Regions from separate parts of the Homo sapiens genome. Here regions 2, 3, 4 and 5 are each linked to region 1. Evidence: promoter capture Hi-C in 16 types of primary human blood cells and fetal thymus (Javierre and others, 2016). All regions are on one chromosome and are shown on one strand. Each heading gives the region's core, a stretch centred on a gene start or on the middle of the fragment in contact. The rest is flanking DNA. Distances are from core to core; before and after follow the strand shown. Region 1 holds the start of ERI2 (ERI1 exoribonuclease family member 2). Region 2 has its middle 24 kb from the start of CRYM. Region 3 overlaps DNAH3 (dynein axonemal heavy chain 3). Region 4 overlaps DNAH3 (dynein axonemal heavy chain 3). Region 5 overlaps DNAH3 (dynein axonemal heavy chain 3).

Region 1 (2,738 bases), core at 88-2,587:
GGATCACTAGGCCAGGCACCGTGGCTCACACCTGTAACCCCAGCACTTTGGGAGGTTGAGGCGGGTGGATCACCTGAGGTCGGGAGTTCGAGAACAGTCTGACCAACATAGAGAAACCCCATTTCTACTAAAAATACAAAATTAGCTGGGTGTGGTGGTGCATGCCTGTAATCCCAGCTACTTGGGAGGCTGAGGCAGGAGAATGACTTGAACCCGGGAGGCAGAGGTTATGGTAAGCCGAGATCGCACCACTGCACTCTAGCCTAGGCAACAAAACTCCGTCTCAAAAAAAAAAAAAAAGATCACTAGAAAATGGGTTTGTAAAAAGTAGAGGTTCCTCTTCAAAGACTTCCTTCCCCGTCTAATTAGGAATAAATAGTAACTTCTCTTAGAGCAAAATTTATTCAAAGACCTGTGCTAACATTCTTAAATATCTGCTAGATATAATAAAGAAATCAATGTACTTTATGTTCTTAGCTCCCACAATTTAGCCTAAATATTTGCCCTGGCATGCTTATACTGGTCCAATCAAACATTAGGTCATAGCCTGTTCCTCTTCCTTACTTAAAAGTGTTTTTACCTTTCTCAGCATTCCACAAGTTACTTCCTTCTTCCTTTGTTCTCCTCTGCCTTTGCCTCTTTTAAAAAGTTCTATGTTGCTAGTCAGTCGGGACAAATACAGAATGTGAGGTCCCGTTCCAGCCAAAGGAAACCGGACACAGCAGTAGGGTGGACGCGCCACGTTATAAATGACCCTGTCTCCTTTGTTCAGTGTACTCTCCTGGCAAAACTGCTGGCGAGTGTACCCTTTCTGCAGGAAGTAAAAATGGCCTTACTAAATAAATTAAATTTAAGTTTAAGTTCTATTTCTTTACAGCACCGAGGAACGAGCATTTCGAACAGGTTGAACACCTTGACAGATTCAGTGTGTGGCCTGCCTGAGACCTCCAACCAGTCTGCAGGGCACTGTCACGTCCAGTCGTTTCCCAAGGCCTAAAATAGGCAGGCACTGGCTCAAGGCCACACAGTCAAGGCCCCAGGGTTCGTCCGCCTCGGGCTCCTGTCACCCTCGGGTAGAAGGTGGCCCAAGGCTGAAGACCGAGGTCCAGGGAGGCGCCTTTCCAACCGTGCCAGAGAGGGCAGGTCGCAGACGCCGGGGCTGCGGGGAATAGAGGCCCTCACCGCAGATGCCACCTGCCGTGCCCTGCTCTGCGGCCAACGCCAGCGCTGGACCCGGAGCTACCCGCCCCCGACCCGGAACTCCCTCGAGTACCGCGCGAGCCGCTTGGTCGCCATTCCCGACACTCCTTGCTTTTCCAAGTCCAGCTGCCGGAAGTCGCTCGACTTCTACTTCCGGTCCGTTCAAAAAGCCCGCGAGGCTGAGGGGCGGTTGTTGTTGGCAGCTGTGGCTAAGGAGGGGAGAACCTCTGCTCCCCGCCCGTCTTCTCTTCTGCGTTTCCCGGGCTAGGGGGCGTGGGGAGTGGTTTTAGGCGGCGAAGCCGCTCGGCAGCACCTTCCTTCTTTGCCAGGCAGACGCCCGTTGTAGCCGTTGGGGAACCGTTGAGAATCCGGTAACCGATGCGGACGGTAAAGCCGTTTGGGTTAGAGCGGCGCGGGTGTCCAGTCCGCGGAACGGGGAGATCGTTGGCACCTTCGCTTTTTTAGGGGAACGGGGATAGTTCGGTAAACTGAATTGAGAAGCGGATCCGAGGGAGGTTGAAAGCTGTCAAGCCCGTGTAGCTCTCCCGCTAGGAGGCGGCACGCGGGGGAATAGGGGCGCTGGAGTTTCCCCAGCTCTACCTCATCTTTCTCCACAGCCATGGAGCCAGAGAGGGAAGGGACCGAGAGACACCCCAGGAAGGTCAGGGAAAGCAGGCAGGCCCCAAATAAGCTGGTCGGGGCAGCTGAGGCGATGAAAGCCGGTTGGGATCTCGAGGAGAGTCAGCCCGAGGCCAAGGTGAGCAACGGGGATCCCGAGCAGGCGGCCCTAGGCGGTTTGGAGCTCCCGGACCCTCGCCCAACCGCCGTCGGGGGCACTGGATTCGGGCGGGCTCTCCGCCCTGGCCTCTCCGAACCTGATCCCTGATCATTAAAATGGGAATGAGTGTAATACCACCTTCCTGCAACAAGGCTGTCATTGGCTGTCACTGGGATAGTGAGTCGGCCGAGTGCGGTGGCTCATGCCTGTAATTCCAGCACTTTGGGAGGCCGAGGCGGGCGGATCACGAGGTCAGGAGTTCGAGACCAGCCTTGTCAACATGGAGAAATCCCCGTCTCTACCAAAAACACACACACAAAATTAGCCAGGCGTGGTAGTGGGTGACTGTAATCCCACCTACTTGGGAGGCTGAGGCAGGAGAATCGCTAGAACCCAGGAACCAGAGGTTGCAATGAGCCAAGACCACGCCATTACACTCCACCCTGGACAACAAGAAAGAAATCACGTCTCAGAAAAAAAAAAAAAAAAAAAAAAACTGGGATGGTGGGCCGGGTGCAGTGGCTCACGCCTGTAATCCCAGCAGTTTGGGAGGCCAAGGCGGGAGCATCATTTGAGGCCAGGAATTCAAGACCAGCCTGGGCAATATAGCAAGGACCCCATCTCTTAAAAAAAAAAAACAAAAAACAAAACAAAAAAAAAACTGCCTGTACATAATAGGAATGTTCATCGATATCCTGGGGCACAAAAATACAATTCCTTGCCCTCGTGCAGTTTACATTCCAGTAGGGCGGGGGTCCCC
Region 2 (2,738 bases), core at 95-2,594, 500 kb after region 1:
AGAGAAATCATCCAGTGATGATGAAAACGAGGTGCCATGAGATTCCCTCTTAAAAAAAAAAAAAAAACAGAAAAAGAAAAAAAAAAGAAATGCCCTACACGTGAGTCCCAATAAACTCATCTACTCATCAAGCTGGACTGGTCTGAGTCATTCTTTGGTCTGTTGGCTCCTTTCCCAGTTTGGGGCGGAGGATGTTCTATACAGTCCTGGATTTTTCCCCAACCAGGAAGAGAACTCCTTGTCCTGCAGTGTTCCTCTTGCGCCCTCTCCTGACAAAGCTTAACTTCGGAGCTGGAGCAAGTCGTATCCGGCATTGCAGGGAAGAGTGAATTTGGCCTGTGATCCAATCAGAAGCTGCGATTCTAAACAGGAAGCCACACTGGATGCGAGAATTGGGGTGGGGCGCGCCAAGAGGAGCAAGCATTATAGAACGTGGGGAGCATGAGAAATACACGGAGGTGGAAACGCCGGAGTGGCTGGCGGGTAAAGGCAGCGGGCGCAGATGAAGCGGGCTGGGCGTCCCACGCGCAGAACCGTCCCGGACAGAAGCCGCAGGGCTGCGCTGGCTGGAAAAAGGAACGCGAGTACAGCGCGCGTGGCGCGGGGTCTGCTCCAGGACGGAATCTTTTGGGTGGCCCGCATGAGGGGTTTGCAGGACCCCGGGCCTTTGGGAAGTTATCTGCTAAACTCCAGTAGACCCTGAGGAGCAGCGGCTCATGAATCTTCTTAAACTTCTGTCATCAGCGGCTGGGCCAGCTGAAGGTGACCATGGCACACGAGGGAGAGAGAAGCCCGCGAGAGGCGGAGAAATGTGGGGTCGTCCAGGAGGGTCGACAAGGCAAAGAACCTGAAGACGACCCAAAAGGGTACCTAGGTGGGGCCCTTTCAGGGACTTGGGGCATAGGGTAGGGCGCATGGGACGAGGTGGGTGAGCGCAAGGGACGAGATGGGTGTGCGCATGGGACGAGGTGGGTGGGAGCATGAGACGAGGTGGGTGGGGCGGTGGGTGAGGTCTCCGCCCCCAGACGGGCTGGCGAGGAAGCAGGGAAGAAGTAACGTTGGGCTGGTGAGGCAACAGGTGGGGCGCACTGGAGCTGCGGGATAATAGGTGGAACAAACTGGGGACTACACTCGTGGGCGCACGTGCGGAAGAGGGACTGAGGAGGTTCTTGCGTGCTCCCCTCGAGCACCGCCGACAGCTTCACCCGCACCTCCTGCCTTCCGCACCGCTGACTCCTACCGCTCCGCGCACTGCGCGCCCCCAGCCCTAGTGCAGCCAGCTCCCGGCCGGGTCCGCGCGAGGGCCAGGCTGCCAACCTGCCCGCGGGCGGCTGGTGGTTGGGGAGGGCGTTGGGAGGAGGAGTCCCGCCGGGTGGACGCGCGCCCTTCAGCGGCGGAGGCGGAGGCGGCAGCGGCGAGGCCTGAGGGTGCGTGCTAGGGAGTCCTGGCGCGTCCTTCTTCTGCCGGCGTCCCCCTGCGCTTGCAGCTGCTCCCCGACGCCCGGGAGGCCCACCCGCTAGCCGCGATGGGCGCGCAGAGCCCAAAAGGGCGACCCCCAAACAAAACTCACGCATATAAATCCTCCAGAGACTTCCTCATCCCCCCGCCAACACACACACACCCACACACACATACACACAATCAAATCAAATAGAAGCACTGTTAGGAATTTTATATTGGCTATGCAAAGTGCTTGAACGCACTGACTTTGGAGGCAAATGCCTTGTCCCTAGTCCTGACTAGTCCAGAATTTATTTGCTGTGACCTATGGCAAATTGCTTGGTTTCTCTAAGCCTCCATTTCCTAAGGCTTATATCTGAAAATAACTATAAGAGGAAAGGATGCTATTGTATCCAACTCAGAGGGCAGTCCTGATACTTACATTGCGAGAACATGTTAAGTGTTCCATAAATGGCAGAAGGGGCTGTGGAAGTTCAGTGATTATAGGTAGTTTAATTTGTCTTAGTTTTCCTTTGTGAAAGCATAAATTACACCAGAGAAAGTCACATATGTAAGGAATACTTTATGCAAAGCTGTTGTCCTAGGGAAGAGAGACCAGAACTCAGTCTAAACTAACTCTGCTGAAACAAAGTGGGGCAGGGTTTTTAAGCTCTAGGATGAGAGTAGAAAGGTGCTGGAGGGCTGTCGGAAGCATACTGAGTTGTTTGCTGAGTTTACAAGTGTTTCCTCCGTGATTAGGCCAGCTGTGTTTGCTAATTGGCTCTCAGGGAAGTTAGGCTCCTACCCTCCCACAGAAACTGGGAGATAGGGGGACCGTCTTCCTTGATGATTGCATTTCAAAGGAATGGCTCCCAGGTCCTTGACAAAGATGATTCTGGTTTGTAAAACTAGTAAGAGGCTATTAAAAAGAGTTACAGATATCTCAAGACAGAGAAAGAATTTACAGTGAAAAGCTTTCTAAAGAAAATGCTCTGTATTAATCTGTTTTCACACTGCTGATAAAGACATACCCAAGACTGGGCAATTTACAAAAGAAAGAGGTTTATTGGACTTACAGTTCCACGTGGCTGAGGAGGCCTCACAATCACGGCAGAAGGTGAAAGGTATATCTCACATAGTGGCAGACAAGAAAGCTTGTGCAGGGAAACTCCCCATTTGAAAACCATCAGTTCTTATGAGACTTACTCACTATCATGAGAAGAGCACGGGAACAACCCATCCCCATGATTCAGTCATCACTCACAGGGTCCCTCCCATAACACGTGGGAATTATGGGA
Region 3 (2,738 bases), core at 172-2,671, 330 kb after region 1:
ACTGGTGCTTAAGTTATATTAGATACTGTTCTAAGTGCTTTGGATGTAGTAAGTTATTTATTCCTCTTATCAATCCTATGAAGTGGAAACTCTTATTAACATTATCGCAAATTTAGAGGTAAAGGAAGCAAGGCACAGAAAAGTGATGCGACCACATATATGCCTGTAAAGCAGCAGAGCTAGGAGTTAGACCTGAGCAGGCTGGCTCCAAGTCTGTGCAATTAAGCAGGATATTCCAGTGCTTAGAGACAGGCACAGGGTGCCCTGGGGACACAAAGGAGGGCCACGTAAGCCTGCAAGGAAAGGTGTCACTTATAATTCACATGCATATTTGGCCTAGATTTTTTTTTCTTTCATTTCTCTATGCTGTCAGGGCTACCCCCACTGTGCACAGCAGAATAGGCTTGCTTACACGTGGATGTGGTCAAGAAAGGGAATGAAAAAAAAAGGGAGGGACTTCTTACTCTGCAAACCACAGTTCTTTCAGCCTGAGCATCATGGGGTTCACCGTGTGCAGATGCTCCTCGTTCCACTTCTTGGCGCTCCTGTAGACACTGTGCCAGGGCACAGGGGCCCGGATCACTCTTTGAGGAAACAAGCGGGGGATGCTCTCAATAAAGAGCCGTTTTCTCTCCATTGGGTCCATGAGGATGTAATCAACTACAACCGGAAAGGGCGAACACCTCATTATTAAGCTCTAAGGGTTGTGCTCTTAGCTTCAACTCATTTAGTTTTGTTTTTAATATAGAGACGGGGTCTCACTAAGTTGGCCAGGCTGGTCTCAAACTCCTGGGCTCAAGTGATCCTCCCACCTCAGCCTGCCAAAGTGCTGGGATTACAGGCATGAGTTGCTATGCCTGGCCTTAGAGTCAACTCTTTTTATTTATTTATTTATTTATTTTTTGAGATGGAGTCTCGCTCTGTCGCCCAGGCTCGATTGCAATGGTTCAATCTCAGCTCACTGCAACCTCCACCTCCGCCTCCTAGGTTCAAGCCATTCTCCTGCCTCAGCCTCCTGAGTAGCTGGGATTACAGGTGGCTGCCACCACACCTGCCTAATTTTTTGTATTTTCAGTAGATACAGGGTTTTGCCATGTTGGCCAGGTTGGTCTTGAAATCCTGACCTCAGGTGATCCACCCGCCTCGGCCTCCCAAAGTGCTGCGATTATAGGTGTGAGCTAGCACACCTGGCCTTAGCTTCAACTCTTAGAATATAAATGAGCCTCTGTCCATTTGCAAGGTCATGGGTAATCCCCTGGGTATAATTCAACTGGTGAAGCTTCACTCTTGGTGTTTGTTTTCTTTCTGAGGGTATTTTACAGAAAGGAGGAGTGTGACTTCACGGTGTGGAGCACTTAGAATCTGGGGTTGAGCCCTGGTAGGATGTCTAGTATCAGGCAGGACAATGAAATAGGATTTGCTGATAACTCATTAGTCACTGATTGATTTCTCACACCAAAATAGATGCACACAAAAAAACCCACCATGGATGATACCATCCATTATATTTACAAATAGAAGTTTAAAGACCAAATGTTTTCCATACTAAGAAAGGTTGGTAGAAAAGCTTCATAGAGGATGTAACATTTGTGCTGGGTCATAAAGAACAAGTAGCAGGCTGGGTGCGGTGGCTCACACCTGTAATCCCAGCACTTTGAGAGGCTGAGGTGGGTAGATCACTTGAGGTCATGAATTCGAGACCAGACTGGCCAACATGGCGAAACCTTGTCTCTACTAAAAATACAAAAATTAGCTGGGAGTGGTGGTGCGTGCCTGTAGTCCCAGCTACTCAGGAGGCTGAGGCAGGAGAATTGCGTGAACCCAGGGGTCCGCCCAGGTAGGTCTTGAAATCCTGACCAACCTCTGCAGTTGCAGTGAGCAGAGATCACACCACTGCACTTCAGCCTGGGCGACAGAGCAAGACTGTCTCAAAAAAGAAAAAAAAAAGAAGTGTAGAATCTCAGCCAGGTGTGATGGCTCATGTCTATAATCCCAGCACTTTGGGAGGCCGAGGCAGGAGGATCTCTTGAGTCCAGGATGTTCAAGACAAGCCTAGGCAACATAGGGAGACCTTGTCGCTAAAAAAAAAAAAAAAAAATTGTTTTAAACTTACAAATGTAGAATCTCAGGCCCCAGGTTCAGATCTACTGAATCGCAATCTGCATTTTAAGATCTGCAGGTTACAGGGATGCACGTGAATATGTGAAGTGCTGGTGTAGACATCAGTGATGGTAGGGGGATGCAGGACTTTGAATTAGCGGTTAAATGATGTTTTGGGTATTTCCAGTGGAATCAGGGTGGCAAATGACAAAGTGAGAAGAAAGAAGATGCCTTCCAGGCCAGGCATGGTGCCTCATGCCTGTAATCCTAGCACTTTGGGAGGCTAAGGAGGGAGGATTGCTTGAGCCCAGGAGTTCCAGACCAGCCTGAGCAACAAAGCAAGACCTTGTCTCTACAAAAATAAAAATAAAAAAGAAGGTGCCCTCTACATAGAAGCTCCCCAGCCCCCTTTATGCCCACCAGCCTTACCGATGCTTTTCATGAGGCTACAGTAATAGTCATTCTCCTTCTCCTGCACGAGGACCACCATCAGGGGCTCCAGGAAGGGACTCGTCAGCAGCGTGTTAGAAATCAGCTTTGAAATCCGAACCATCACTTCACCCTCCTCAGGGGCAATCATGTCTTTGCGAATTCCATTGGTCAGATAGTAATAGTATCTCTTCCATAAACAAACCACC
Region 4 (2,738 bases), core at 80-2,579, 290 kb after region 1:
TCCCAACTCCATCTTTCTCTCTCTCTCTCAAGATAAATGAAGATGAAAAAATAAGTTAAACTACCTATAAGACCACCTCCCAGAAATCGAGCTGTTGTGAGCCTGTTGGTGGTTAAACATTTCCAGATATTTTCCTGTACAGGTAAATACGTATAAGATATATGTACACGTATACATACTGTTTATTCATTCAGCCATTAGACATTTATTATTGAGTGCCTAATATATTCTATAACTGCCCTAGGCATCAGGAATATATTTGCGAAGTATGCTATTAAGTTCTCTACCTTCATGGAGCTTCTATTTTAACTGAGGGAGACCTAGACAATAGACATGGATGGATGGATGGATGGATGGATGGATGGATGGATGGACAGATGGATGGATGGATGAATGGATGGATGGTTGGATGAATGGATGAATAAATCCATAGACAGGACAAACAATAAAATATTTCTGTTAGTAATAAATGCTCTGAAGAAAATAAAATAGGGCAGAATGACTAGCAGACGGAAGTGGAGGGCTACTGTAGCTACAGTGACCAGGAGAGACCTTTCCAAAGATTTATCAACTTCATCCATATTATCAACAAAGCAGGTCTCAATGAGAACTGCTCCCTTTTTCTAATGAGGTAGAATAATATAGTGTGAAGTGGACAGGGTCTTGAGACAAACAAGCTAGCTTCAAATTCCCACCTTGCCACTTAGTAGCTATGTAGTCTTGGGAAAGTCACTTAAACTCTCTGTGCCTCGGGTAGATAAAACAAGGATAGAAAAAATGCCAGCTTAATAGTTAAAGTCAATAAGAACAACAATAACAAAAAAAAGCTCAGAATTGAGCCTGGTATACAATAGTCAATACATAAGTGTTTGCTCACATTCACTAAAATGTAAACTCTATAAATAGTTGATTTTTACTTATTTATTAATTTTTACCCAGCCCTGTTCAAGGAAATAAATATGTTTCTTGTCTCCTTAATTCCTTTTAGTGTCTTCAGCAGTTAGACCATCTGATACATGGCAAATAATCAATACTCTTCAAACAAATAAGGGAACTTGTCATTGAGATCAGCTATAGTGACATTTCATAAATTTGGTTATCCTAAGAATGCTTAATTCTGTTATGGCAGTTTTAAAGTTGCTTTTTTCTTAAACATGATTTAGAGAATTAATTTTCAAGTGGTTTGAGTCTCTCTCTCTCTCTTTATCTCTTTCTTTCTGGAGTGCAGTGGCACAATCTCGGCTCATTGTAACCTCTGCCTCCCAGTTTTAAGTGATTCTCCAGCCACAGCCTCCCAAGTAGCTGAGATTATAGGTGCCCGCCACCATGCCCAGCTAATTTTTGTATTTTTCATAGAGATGTGGTTTCACCATGTTGGCCAGGCTAGTCTCGAACTCCTGACCTCAGGTGATTCGCCCACCTTGGCCTCCCAAAGTGCTGGGATTACAAGCATGAGCCACATATTCCGGCCTCCATTCCTTTTCTCAGCTTTTTATTTTTGTTTTGTAATAAGCTGTAATTTTAGACTCTGGTCAGTGTTCATTTTCAAGAATATCCTTAGTGTAAAAACATTTCATTCATTCACTCATTAAAATGGTGAACATCCACTATAAGCAAGGAACCGTGTTCTATCTGAATCCTTAGGCTTTGGTGAAACACAATGTCGGGTGCTCTCCCTAAGATGTCTTCCCTTCTTCCTCCAGGGTGCCAAAGTGTTTTCCTTTGCCCTTTTATGGCAGAGAGCAGCAGCTCACATCCCTGAGTCATCCATCGTGTAAATATCACATAACTTCCAGAACCACGGAACCTACCACTGAGTTGGATGAAATGATGGGGGAGAGAGGCAATGCTTATTATTCTTCTGTTGTACATGCAATTAGGTGCTGCTAAGTGCCTTTTCACATCATTAAATTCTTTTTGAAGCTCCAAATACTATACTCACATAGAAATCTCTGATGAAAGCAGTTTTGAATTCCTCCCAGAGGGCAACTGCATGTAAGCTCAGTGATTACCTTAAAATATTACTATTATTATTGTTTCTAATTTCTTATAATTGCTAAGTACATTATAGTTTCCAAAGTACTTTCATGTCCCCACAACACACACACATACAAACAACTGCTCCTTGACTTACAATGGGGTTACATCCCTATAAACCTATTGCAATTTGAAAATACTGGAAATTGAAAATTCATTTAATACACCTAACCTACTGAACATCAGAGCTTAGCCTAGCCTATCTTAAATGCACTCAGAACACTCACATTAGTCCACAGTTATCATCTAAGACAAAGCCTGTTTTATAATAAAGTGTTGACTATCCCATGTAACTTATTGTATACCGTACTGAAAGTGAAAAACATAATGGTTGTATGGGTACTCAACATATCACTTTCACACCATCAGAAAGTCAAAGAATCGTAAGTTGAACCATCGTAAGTCAGTGACTAGCTGTGTGTATGTGTGTGTGTATATATGTAAATTCCATACATATTTCATATAAATAAATTCCTATATATATATCCCAATATATTATATTCCATAGAATAATACAATCATTAGCAAATAGTAGGCACTCATGAAATTAGGTTGAATAAGAGTTGTATTTGTGGGACCATTTAGAGTGTAAGGGGAGGATTCTGGCAGGAAATAGAATTCACTCCCATGTTCAAAGAAAGATACTTTAAGGATTACTTGCAGGGGTGAGATATGGATAGGATTAAAGGAACAAATAGCAG
Region 5 (2,738 bases), core at 98-2,597, 260 kb after region 1:
GCCTTGACCTCCAGGGCTCAAGCAATTCTCCCACCTCAGCCTCCCGAGTAGCTGGGACTACAGGCGCATGCCACCACGCACGGCTAATTTTTGTATACTTTGTAGAGATGGGGTCTTGCCATGTTGGCCAGGCTAGTCTCAAACTCCTGGGCTCAAGTGATCCATCCACCTCACCTCCCAGAGTACTGGGACTGTAAATGTGAGCCACTGCACTCAGCCCTTTACTATCTTTTAAATTAGAGATAATAAGACAATTTCATCTCTTGTTCAGGCCTAAAAGCAGCAACAACAAACCTTCAGAAAATGTCCAATATTCAAACCTGTACTGTGACCATCAGGCTGAAAGTTCTATGATGGAGGGATTGTGTGATTATGGTCTTTACCAAATATGGTGGATTACAAAAATGGCCACGATATTTACAGTTCCTCTCATCAAGGGGTGGAGTCTGTTTTCACATTTCTCAAACTTGAGCTGGCTCTGTGTCTTGCTTTGGCTAATAGAATGTAAGTGAACATGAGTCTGTGCACGTTCTAAGCCTAGGCATCAAGAGGCCATGATGCTTTCACTCTTGCTGCTCTTAGGAACCCTGTGACCACCACCATATAAATAAACCCAGGCTAGTCTTCTACAGGATAAAAGACATGTGGCCCAAATACCTGTTGTCCAGCCAGTAGGAAGCCAATGACCAGACAAGCAATTAAGGATGCTGACTGATGGCTGACTGCAGTCATGAGTGAGCCCCAGTGAGGCCAGAAGAACCACCCAGCCAAGCCCAGCTCAATCTGCCAACCTAGAGAATTCTGAGCTAAACTGATCATGTGAAACATGATTGTTGTTTCACACTTCTAACTTTTGGGGTCATTTGTTACTCAGCAAAGCAAACGAATACACTGTATCTACAGTGTTGAGCAAGTACAAAGAGTAATAATTATTTGTTGCTGATCAACTAACAAATATCCAGTGAGATGTCAATTTCTCCCACTCCCAAGTGAAATTCAAATGGGTGATCTCTATGGATATACACTCCCTCTATCTCCATCATGTGCTATAATGAATAAGGCTCAATGGCCATAAGAGTAATAATACATTCGTATAATTTAAAATTAAAATCTTTTTTTAGCAATCTGTATTTTCAAGATGAAATTAACTTAAATTATGTGACTATCAACAACATTCTCAAAGTGTTTGCTGAGAGTGTTTAATTTTATTTTATAAAAATGCATAAATATTGAGGTAGGTGTGTGTGTGTGTGTGTGTGTGTGTGTGTGTGTGTGTGTGTTTAACTTAGGGTAAAAATGTGGCTCAGAGAGGTTAAATGGCTGAATATCTTATCCAGACTTCCTGGGTATCAATTCTAGCTTGATCATTTTACCAGTCTTGTATCTTTGGGCAAATCATTATTTTCTCATTTATAAAACAGGGACAATAATAATGTTCCCAAACCCATAAGAGTATTACAAAGATTAAATTAGTTAGTTAGTAAGTGTAAAGCACTTAGAGCAGGGTCCTGGTGTAAGGAAATGCTATATTAGTGCTATTATTCATATTTTTTTTTGAGAGAGAGTCTCGCTCTGTCACCCAGGCTGGAGTGCAGTGGCACCATCTCGGCTCACCACAATCTCTGCCTCCCGGGTTCAAGCAATTCTCCTGCCTCAGCCTCCCAGATAGCTGGGATTACAGGCACCCACCACCACGCCCAGCTGATTTTTGTATTTTCAGTAGAGACAGGGTTTCATCATGTTGGCCAGGCTGGTCTCGAACTCCCAGCCTCACGTGATCTGCCCACTTCGGCCTCCCAAAGTGCTAGGATTACAGGCAGGAGCCACCACGCCTGGTCTATTATTCATATTTTAATTAGGAATAACAGGAGTGGGTCTAGAACTAGAAGCCCAAACCTCAGGTGTTTCCTGAGTTTAATCTCTTCCCAAGCCTTATGTGTCAAAACCAGGGTTCCTTCCACTATACTGTGCTGTCCAATACAAAAGCTATTAGCCCCATGTGGCTATTTACATTAAAAAGTAATATTAACTAAGTTAAAAATTGGCTTCCTCAGTCACCTCAACCACATATAAAGTGCTCAGTGGCCACTGGCAGCTAAGGGCTACTATATTGGACAGTACGGACAAAGAACATTCCTATCATTGCAGAAAGTTCATTGGATAATGCTGAATTGAATAAATACCAAAGATACTTCTGAGTTTGTTTATTTATTTATTTATTTGAGACGGAGTCTTGCTCTGTCACCCAGGCTGGAGTGCAGTGGTATGATCTCGGCTCACTGCAACCTCCACCTCCCAGGTTCAAGCAATTCTCCTGCCTTAGCCTCCCAAGTAGCTGGGATTACAGGTGCCCCCCACCACACCTGGCTAATTTTTGTATTTTTAGTAGAGGCGGGGTTTCAACATGTTGGCCAGGCTGGTCTTGAACTCCTGACCTCGGGTGATCCGCCCCCTCGGCCTCCCAAAGTGCTGGGATTACAGGCATAAGCCACCGTGCTCAGTCATACTTCTGAGTTTCTAACAAATCATTTTTTGTTTTTTTTTTTGTTTTTTTTGGTAAACAGCAGGGAACTAACTTTGTCTCCATATAAAGAAACGCTAAAATTTATGTTTCTTAAAGGTAAATTAGGATCAAACATCCTAAGTGGGGTCAAATGACATGGAGTGACCATCAATGGTGAACTAGTCATGGATAGATTATCAGGAATGTCAGGAGTGAGAATTCACCTTTCCGAAAC

Evidence for each region. The method cuts DNA at HindIII sites, captures the fragments that hold promoters and counts their contacts. A CHiCAGO score of 5 or more calls a contact.
Region 2: a fragment that was not itself captured here is called in contact with the fragment with the promoter of ERI2 in region 1 in 3 of 17 cell types (endothelial precursors, erythroblasts and monocytes); the score reaches 8.7 in endothelial precursors.
Region 3: a fragment that was not itself captured here is called in contact with the fragment with the promoter of ERI2 in region 1 in 4 of 17 cell types (monocytes, M2 macrophages, M1 macrophages and 1 more); the score reaches 5.9 in monocytes.
Region 4: a fragment that was not itself captured here is called in contact with the fragment with the promoter of ERI2 in region 1 in 4 of 17 cell types (M2 macrophages, monocytes, endothelial precursors and 1 more); the score reaches 8.7 in M2 macrophages.
Region 5: a fragment that was not itself captured here is called in contact with the fragment with the promoter of ERI2 in region 1 in 4 of 17 cell types (monocytes, M1 macrophages, M2 macrophages and 1 more); the score reaches 6.4 in monocytes.

The regions. Positions count from the first base shown.
Region 1 is chr16:20,805,135-20,807,872 of GRCh38, forward strand. It overlaps ERI2 (ERI1 exoribonuclease family member 2), which reads right to left and starts at 1,338. Exons shown (of 9, transcript NM_001142725.2): 1 at 1,274-1,338. The coding sequence starts at 1,296. It overlaps REXO5 (RNA exonuclease 5), which reads left to right and starts at 1,393. Exons shown (of 20, transcript NM_030941.3): 1 at 1,393-1,571; 2 at 1,818-1,957. The coding sequence starts at 1,820. RefSeq lists enhancers at 534-1,479, 1,228-1,337, 2,058-2,197. The HindIII fragment of the contact is 22,874 bases long and covers 1-2,738 here.
Region 2 is chr16:21,300,462-21,303,199 of GRCh38, forward strand. It overlaps a transcript of CRYM not described here and the pseudogene ABCA15P. Among named protein-coding and RNA genes, the nearest start is that of CRYM, 24 kb to the left of the region's middle. RefSeq lists a silencer at 1,225-1,484 and an enhancer at 1,927-2,515. The HindIII fragment of the contact is 2,136 bases long and covers 277-2,412 here.
Region 3 is chr16:21,133,795-21,136,532 of GRCh38, forward strand. DNAH3 (dynein axonemal heavy chain 3) reads right to left here. Exons shown (of 62, transcript NM_001347886.2): 7 at 2,530-2,719; 8 at 465-660. Among named protein-coding and RNA genes, the nearest start is that of DNAH3, 16 kb to the right of the region's middle. The HindIII fragment of the contact is 288 bases long and covers 1,278-1,565 here.
Region 4 is chr16:21,098,901-21,101,638 of GRCh38, forward strand. The region is part of intron 16 of DNAH3 (dynein axonemal heavy chain 3); the gene reads right to left. Among named protein-coding and RNA genes, the nearest start is that of DNAH3, 51 kb to the right of the region's middle. The HindIII fragment of the contact is 3,136 bases long and covers 1-2,738 here.
Region 5 is chr16:21,063,623-21,066,360 of GRCh38, forward strand. The region is part of intron 24 of DNAH3 (dynein axonemal heavy chain 3); the gene reads right to left. Among named protein-coding and RNA genes, the nearest start is that of DNAH3, 86 kb to the right of the region's middle. The HindIII fragment of the contact is 4,788 bases long and covers 1-2,738 here.